Linked DNA regions of Homo sapiens: all the other regions are linked to region 2. Evidence: promoter capture Hi-C in human tissues and cell types (Jung and others, 2019). All regions are on one chromosome and are shown on one strand. Each heading gives the region's core, a stretch centred on a gene start or on the middle of the fragment in contact. The rest is flanking DNA. Distances are from core to core; before and after follow the strand shown. Region 1 has its middle 16 kb from the start of ZSWIM5. Region 2 holds the start of PTCH2 (patched 2). Region 3 overlaps ZSWIM5 (zinc finger SWIM-type containing 5).

Region 1 (2,700 bases), core at 150-2,649, 380 kb before region 2:
TTATTTTTTTTATTGATCATTCTTGGGTGTTTCTCGCAGAGGGGGATTTGGCAGGGTCATAGGACAATAGTGGAGGGAAGGTCAGTAGATAAACAAGTGAACAAAGGTCTCTGGTTTTCCTAGGCAGAGGACCCTGCGGCCTTCTGCAGTGTTTGTGTCCCTGGGTACTTAAGATTAGGGAGTGGTGATGACTCTTAACGAGCATGCTGCCTTCAAGCATCTGTTTAACAAAGCACATCTTGCACCGCCCTTAATCCATTTAACCCTGAGTGGACACAGCACATGTTTCAGAGAGCACAGGGTTGGGGATAAGGTCACAGATCAACAGGATCCCAAGGCAGAAGAATTTTTCTTAGTACAGAACAAAATGAAAAGTCTCCCATGTCCACTTCTATCCACATAGACCCGGCAACCATCCGATTTCTCAATTTTTTCCCCACTCTTCCCGCCTTTCTATTCCACAAAACCGCCATTGTCATCATGGCCCATCCCCAATGAGCCGCTGGGCACACCTCCCAGACGGGGTCGTGGCCGGGCAGAGGGGCTCCTCACTTCCCAGTAGGGGCGGCCGGGCAGAAGCGCCCCTCACCTCCCGGACGGGGCGGCTGGCCGGGCGGGGGGCTGACCCCCCCCCCCCCACCCTCCCGGACGGGGCGGCTGGCCAGGCAGAGGGGTCCTCACTTCCCAGTAGGGGCGGCCGGGCAGAGGCGCCCCTCACCTCCCGGACGGGGCGGCCGGCCGGGCGGGGGGCTGACCCCCCCACCTCCCTCCCGGACAGGGCGGCTGGCCGGGCAGGGGGCTGACCCCCCCACCTCCCTCCCGGACGGGGCGGCTGGCCAGGCAGAGGGGCTCCTCACTTCCCAGTAGGGGCGGCCTTCTTCGGCAACTTATTGTGTAGTTGTAAGAGGATCAGCTTCGATGTTTGCGCTCTTTTGGTCATTATCAACTCCCAATGGCCAGCCACTGTGCTCCTCATCTTCAAGGCTCTTGTCTCCTTTGCAAAACTTCTTGAACCACCACTGCATTGTACGTTCATTAGCGTTAGCAGCTCCTGGGCTAAATGCATTGTTGCAAGTTGTCTCTGCTGCTTTACGACATTTTTGAACTTGAATAGGAAAATTGCTCAAATTTGCTTTTTGTCTAACATCATTTCCATAGTCTAAAATAAACATAAAATAAACAGCAAGTAATGTCATCAGCAAAATAAATAAATAAATAAATAAAGCGAGAGTGTCCATTAAAATAATGTATAACATAACCACATTTATTTGAGAGTGTATCCCAATATCAAAAGGCAAATTCCAACAATGCAAAAACTGCTGTTCCTTTTGCGTCATTAGTATAACTAATGATGGATATAATGACCGGACTATGTGTCTCCTCATTTTGTGGAGTTGGTGAGAAATTCACTTATATAAAGTTTAACCGAATCTTTTTAGGTAGAAACATAGAGTTGTTTTATTGTTGTATGGAAGTTTGAATGTGTGTAAATGGGTGCATATGGAAGCCAAAGGGATGAATTGTGCCATTTATTAATTTATTGCTTCTCAGATCCAAATGTACCCTTCTTTGCCATGCTATTTAATATTGGAGATGGACCCTGTAAACAGGTTTACTTTGTCAGCTGCTTGATATTAGTCTTGTCAATAGGGAGTTCTGGAGAAACACTGCAAGGCCATAGAAGAAGAAAGATACTTCATTTCCTGGTTCCACTGAGCTGGTTTTTGACATCATGAAGGAGGCCTGGTATTGCTCTCCTCAGCAGCCAGCTTTGCCCTGCATCCTTTAGCATATTTCTCTGCTACCTAGCAGGTTGCTTTTACTGACCAGCTACGGCCAACCTGCGTCCTTCAGCAAGTTTTTCCATCAGCCAGTGGGGTGCCCCTACAAAGCAGATCCAGCTGCCTACATGGTCCGGCAAGTTTTTCCTCCCTCTGGTGAGTCAGTCCTATGAGCCAGCTCTGGTCAGCAACATTCGGCAAGTTCTTTCACTAACTGAAGGCATCTTGTTCCTGAGGCAGCTACTCCCTCTCCAAAGAGGTCTGAGTCTTAGCTTAGTAGTGGGACTCTTCTAAGGCTTTTGTTCTTTCCTTGTTCCCTTGTTTTGCTTTTCCTTCTTAAATTCCAGTCCTCACTGGGCTTGTATGACCACACTCTCCACTTCTTGTATGACTCAGTCTCTTTTGTTGCTTCTCCCTGTATGTCTACCCCTCAATTATTGGTGGTCACTTGGTTTCATCCTAGTTCCTCCCTGCCTCCCCACCCTCAACTCTATATACTTGTTCTGGGTGATCTTAACTTTTTCTGTAAGATCCCAGCTCTTACCCTAACCCTAACCAAATTCTTCTTTGTCCTAAGTTATTCTCCTAGGCTTCAGACCAATTTACACTTGGATTTCTCACAAGTACCTCAAGCCTAACATGTCCCAAAAGTGAACTCATCATTCTTTCCTTGAAATCTGCTACTCCTGAATTTTCTATTTTGGTTATTGACTTCAACTTTTACTACATAGTCCAAGTTAAAGATTTGAAACCACTTTCTACTTTCTTTATTTTTCATCAAAGCTTCTTTATTGCTCCAGGTCTGCTTAGTCCACCTCCCAAATAGTTCTTAAATCTGCTTTAACATTCTTCTCCTAACCCATTGAAATATCCATGGAACCATTCTCATTGCCATTATTTTCTGTCCTCTCCACACCAT
Region 2 (2,700 bases), core at 127-2,626:
AGGAGTTTGAGACCAACCTGGGCAACATGGCAAAACCCTGTCTATACAAAATTACAAAAATTAGCTAGGTGTGGTGGTGCACACCTGTAGTCCCAGCCATTTGGGAGGTCGAGGTGGGAGGATCCCTTGAGACTGGGAGCTCAAGGCTGCAGTGTGCTGTGAAGGCACCACTGCACTCCAACCTGGGCAACAGAGGGAGATCCTGCCTCAAAAAAAAAAAAAAAAAGGTGGGTTTTGGGGGTGATTCAAGTTCAGTTTTTGAAGATTATCTGCCAAGACAAAAGGACCAAAACATGTACAAAGGCAGGAACGAGGGAACACTGATGTGAGGGAACTATGGGAGAGAAGGCTTTAGCTAGATCACACAGGGCCCTGTGCTCCAAGTGGGCCTTGTGCTTTGGAGCTATCAGATTTGCATGTTAGAGAAATGACTCTGGTCTCAGTGGAGAGAGTGGACTGAAGAGGGCAAGAATGGAAGCCGGGAAGAGTGAACAGAAGAAATCTTGGGCTTTGATTGGGTCGGAAAGAAAGTGTGGCCCTACCCACTTTGATGCCATCTCTAAGACCTACTGCTACCTGACCCCCGACCTCTGGAAGGAGACTGTATTCACCAAGTCTCCCTATCAGGAATTCACTGACCACCTCGTCAAGACCCACACCAGAGTCTCCGCGCAGAGGATCCAGGCTCCAGCTGTGGCTACAACATAGGGTTTTTATACAAGAAAAATAAAGTGAATTAAGCCTGAAAAAAAAAAAAAAGAAAAGAAAAAGAAATTGTGGCCCTAGGCCGGGCGCGGTGGCTCACGCTTGTCATCCCAACACTTTGGGAGGCTGAGGCGGGCGGATATCCTGAGCTCGGGAGTCTGAGACCAACCGGGGCAACATGGCGAAACCCGTTCTCTACCAAAAATACAAAAAGCCGGGCGTGGTGGTGCATGCCTGTGATCCCAGCTACTCGGGAGGCTGAGGTGGGAGGATGGCTTGAGCCTGGAAGGCGGAGCCTGCAAGCCGAGATGGAGCCACTGCACTCCAGCCTGGGTGACAGAGTGAGACCCCGTCTTAAAAAAAAAAAAAAAAGTGTATCCCTAACAGAGCCCGCAAAGGCCCTTTCTCAGCGTAAGCCTCTGGACTTACACTTGGCCGGCGCTGCGCCTCTCCGGGATCCCCCTCCCTCCTCCTCCCTGGGGCCCCGCGGGCGGGAGGGAGGCGCGGGGTGGCCCAGCCTGGGTGGTCTCCCGCCCCGCCCCCTGCGGCGCCGTTACCTAGCAGCGGGCCGGGCCGCGCGGCTAGGGTAATTTGCGGGCCCCTCAGCCAATGGGAGGGCGTCGCCCCGGCCAGCTCCCTTTTCTGGAGCTCCAGCCGCCTCCCGGGGACTGCAGTTGCCACCTCGAGCCCTGCTGTGCGTCTCGGGCCAGCAATTCCGCCTGCGCGCGGGACCCATTCCTCCTCCAGCCGCCGCGGCCCACGGCCCACGGAGCGGGTGAATCCCGGCGCCGCGCCCCGGACCCGCAGCTCCCTGCACTCCTCCCTCCCAGCCGCTTTAACACCCACACCCCACAGTCTCTCCCACGCCCGCGCCTTGGCGGCCCCACTGAATCCCTACGCGGGGCCCAGCGGTACCGGGAGACCGGGCTAGCCTATGGGAGCGCCCAGATAACGCGGGTTGGGGGCGCCCGCGCCCCCCATCCCCGCCAGCATGACTCGATCGCCGCCCCTCAGAGAGCTGCCCCCGAGTTACACACCCCCAGCTCGAACCGCAGCACCCCAGGTGAGTAGAGGGGGAGCTGGAAGAAGGAAGAGAGCGGAGCCAGGTCTGTCACTCGGGCCTCTGCAAGGTTTGTGATGTCTTGAAGTGCCGAGTGTCATTAGATGTCTGAAGGCAAGTGAGAGCCAGCACCGCAAGCAAGTTGTGCGTGTGTGTCGGTGTGTCTGTGCCGGTGTCTCCTCATCGTCTGGCCAGTGAGAATGAATGTCTGTGGGTTCACCTCTGTGTCCACCCGACGACAGGTGTGTGTACATATGTATCCTGCTCTCAGAAAATGGGCCTATGCCGGCCGGGCGCGGTGACTCACGCCTGTAATCCCAACACTGGGAGGCTGAGGCAGGCAGATTACCTGAGGTCAGGAGTTCGAGACCAGCCAGGCCAACATGGGGAAACTCTGTCTCTACTAAAAATAAAAAATTAGCAGGGCGTGGTGGCGGGCGCCTGTAGTCCCAACTACTCGGGAGGCTGAGGCAGGAGAATCTCTTGAACCTGGGAGGCGGAGGTTGCAGTCAGCCGAGATCACACCACTGCACTCCAGCCAGGGCAACAGAGCGAGACTGCGTCTCAAAAAAAAAAAAAAAAAAAAAAAGGAGAGAAAACAAAAAGAAAAGAAAGGAAAATAGGCCTATGCCTTCCTCAGGTGTGTGCTGGGGATGGTGGGTGTTACATCTTCCAAGTCTGGGCCTGTGTCTGTGTTGGTGCTCCCTGTCCCACATCCAGAAATCAAGAAGCGAGGGCTGGGCAGCAGATATACAGGGTGAGAAGGGAAGGATTTCATGCATTGTTGCAGTGATGCCTGGCTGACCCTTCTCTTTCCATCCCAGATCCTAGCTGGGAGCCTGAAGGCTCCACTCTGGCTTCGTGCTTACTTCCAGGGCCTGCTCTTCTCTCTGGGATGCGGGATCCAGAGACATTGTGGCAAAGTGCTCTTTCTG
Region 3 (2,700 bases), core at 14-2,513, 350 kb before region 2:
AGAAGTTACTATGGGGGAAGAGAGTAGGAAGTGATTAACTTGGGAAGTGGGGACTACAGGATACATTGCTCTATTTTAATATAATTCCAATTATAAGAAATTTTAGAATTATGTCTAATATTGCAATAAAGATTGAAAACACTTTACTGCTTACAAGTTAGATTAACCTCTTTTTTTTTTTTTGAGACGGAGTCTTGCTCTGTTGCCCAGGCTGGTGTGCAGTGGTGCAATCTCGGCTCACTGCAAGCTCCGCCTCCTGGGTTCACACCATTCTCCTGCCTCAGCCTCCCGAGTAGCTGGGACTACAGATGCCCGCCACCACGCCTGGCTGATTTTTTGTATTTTTAGTAGAAACAGGGTTTCACTGTGTTAGCCAGGATGGTCTCGATCTCCTGACCTCGTGATCCGCCCACCTCGGCCTCCCAAAGTGCTGGGATTACAGGTGTGAGCCACCGCGCCTGGCCAGATTAAGCTTTAATAAAATTCTTTCTGTATTAACATTTTTTATGCCCCGTAATACTTTGGTGCATAGTTGATCCAAAGGGGTAATATTAGTAGGAAGGAAGATGACAAGATGTTACCAAATATTAATCCTTTTTTCTGAGAGTAAACTTTACAGATTTCTGGCTTTAAAATAGCTTTTTGTTATCTTCAGATAATCCTTACCTTTTTTGTTAAAAAAAATTGTTGCTTCTTTTAGGTATAAACATACAATGGAACTAATCAGGAAAATAGCTTTTTGTGCTTCCATTATCTTTTGGTCTGTGAGCAACAGGAAAATCTATTGTGTCTTTGAAAGCCTTGGAGATAATTACATTTTTCCCCCTATTCATTCATGGTTTTATTGAATAGAGGCCTGTAGCACTGATAGATTCTGGAAAAGCCAGCTTGTTCTTATTTTGTTTAAATCTGTCAATACCTGCTAACTGATATGAGTAGCCAACATCACCAACATACATTGATGTTATTAGTAATATAAAATCCTTCCCCACATTATGGCTCCCTATTGTGAAAAACTCTTATTTTTGTCTCACTGAATATTATATTATTGTAGTCTTTACCATCACATGTATTTGGATTTATCTACCATATGTGCATGTATGTATATATATATATATATACACATATGCACACATATGTACACATACGTACTATCACAAATATGTAATTCTGGCTCCTTCAAAGTCTCAGTTTTTTCAACTGTAAAAGGGCAAAATGATGGTACCTACTTCATAGGTTGTTTTGAGAATTAAATTAGTTAATATGTAAAGCACTTAGAATGAGGCTGAACACATATTAAGTGCTATGTAAATATTCACTATTATTATTACAGCTTTTACCAAAATTGAGAGTATTCTGTATTTATCTTCCCTCCCTCAACCTTCACTCCACCTTCTAAAGGTTTTGTAGTCTGACTTATGCTTTCATTCACTAAATTAAAATTGATCTCTTAAAGGTCGCTAGTGACCTCATGATTGCCAAACACAGTATCTTTTTTCTAGTCCTCATTCTTCATGACCTCTGTATAGAATTTTCTGTAGTCTACTATACATTTCTCTTGAAATGCTTCTTCCTAGATTTTTGTTTTACTTCACCATTCTGGCTTTCTTTCTGTTTTCTTTTATTCTCTTACCCCACAATAGTAGGATGCGCCTTCTTATATCAAGTCTTCTAATTTACAATCTAATTTATTTCTACAGTTTCAACTACAATTTTATGAACATAAGATAGCATGATATGATGTAGTGGTTTAAAATTTGTTTAAAGCAACTGTACTCTAACTTTCAAAGGAAATCTTATGCTGGAATTCCAGCTTTTGCAGCAGATAAAATCTGAGCTGTGTTGGGGATTGGGGTGGAGACCAGAACTTAATCAGTATGGCCAGCTACTTCTTCCCTTTGAAACTCTGAAGCACTTCCAAATAATCCAAAGATCAGCATATATATTTGCCTGCCAGATATTTCTAAGTGGATATCTTAATAGCCACTCAAAACCGAACTGCTTGATAAGGGGATTAATATCCAGAATATATTAAAGAACTACAACTCAGCCACAAGAAAAAACCTAATTCAAAAATGGGAAAGGACTTGAATAAACATTTCTCCAGAGACAATGTACAGATGACCAATAAGCACAAGAAAAGATGCTCAACAGCACTAATTATTAGAGTAATGAAAATCAAAACCACAATGAAATACTACTTCACACCCATTAGGATGGTTATTATTTTTTTAAAAAGCCAGAAAATAACAAATGTTGGCAAGGATGTGGAGAAGTTGGAACCATTTGGAAATATAAAATGGTGTAGCTTTTGTAGAAAACAGTATGGCAGTTCCTAAAAAAATTAAACACAGAATAACCATATGAACCAGAAATTCTGCTTCTGGTTGTATAACCAAAATAATTGAAAGCAGGGAATTGAATAGATATTTATACAACCATGTTTTATAGCAGCATTATTCACAATAGGCAGAAGATGGAAACAACCCAAGTGTCCATCGACAGATGAATGGATAAACAAAAGGTCTATTTTCCTTCCTTCCTTCCTTCCTTTCTCTGTCTTTCTATCTACAGGAAATGTTATTTAGCCCTGAAAAGGAAGGAAATCCTAATACATGCTACAACATGGATGAATGTTAAAGATTATGCTAAGTGAATAAGCCAGACACCAAAGGACAAACATTATATGATTCCACTTAC

The links. Contacts are between HindIII fragments. The study calls those that stand out against the background at their distance.
Region 1: a contact is called between a fragment that was not itself captured here and the fragment with the promoter of PTCH2 in region 2, in 1 of the 25 tissues and cell types used here (adrenal gland).
Region 3: a fragment that was not itself captured here is called in contact with the fragment with the promoter of PTCH2 in region 2 in 1 of the 25 tissues and cell types used here (liver).

Annotation. Positions count from the first base shown.
Region 1 is chr1:45,221,160-45,223,859 of GRCh38, reverse strand. No RefSeq gene overlaps it. Among named protein-coding and RNA genes, the nearest start is that of ZSWIM5, 16 kb to the right of the region's middle. RefSeq lists an enhancer at 1-559. The HindIII fragment of the contact is 7,307 bases long and covers 1-2,700 here.
Region 2 is chr1:44,841,929-44,844,628 of GRCh38, reverse strand. PTCH2 (patched 2) reads left to right here and starts at 1,376. Exons shown (of 22, transcript NM_003738.5): 1 at 1,376-1,768; 2 at 2,590-2,700. The coding sequence starts at 1,697. RefSeq lists a silencer at 1,161-1,430. The HindIII fragment of the contact is 15,143 bases long and covers 1-2,700 here.
Region 3 is chr1:45,192,360-45,195,059 of GRCh38, reverse strand. The region is part of intron 1 of ZSWIM5 (zinc finger SWIM-type containing 5); the gene reads left to right. Among named protein-coding and RNA genes, the nearest start is that of ZSWIM5, 13 kb to the left of the region's middle. The HindIII fragment of the contact is 4,871 bases long and covers 1-2,700 here.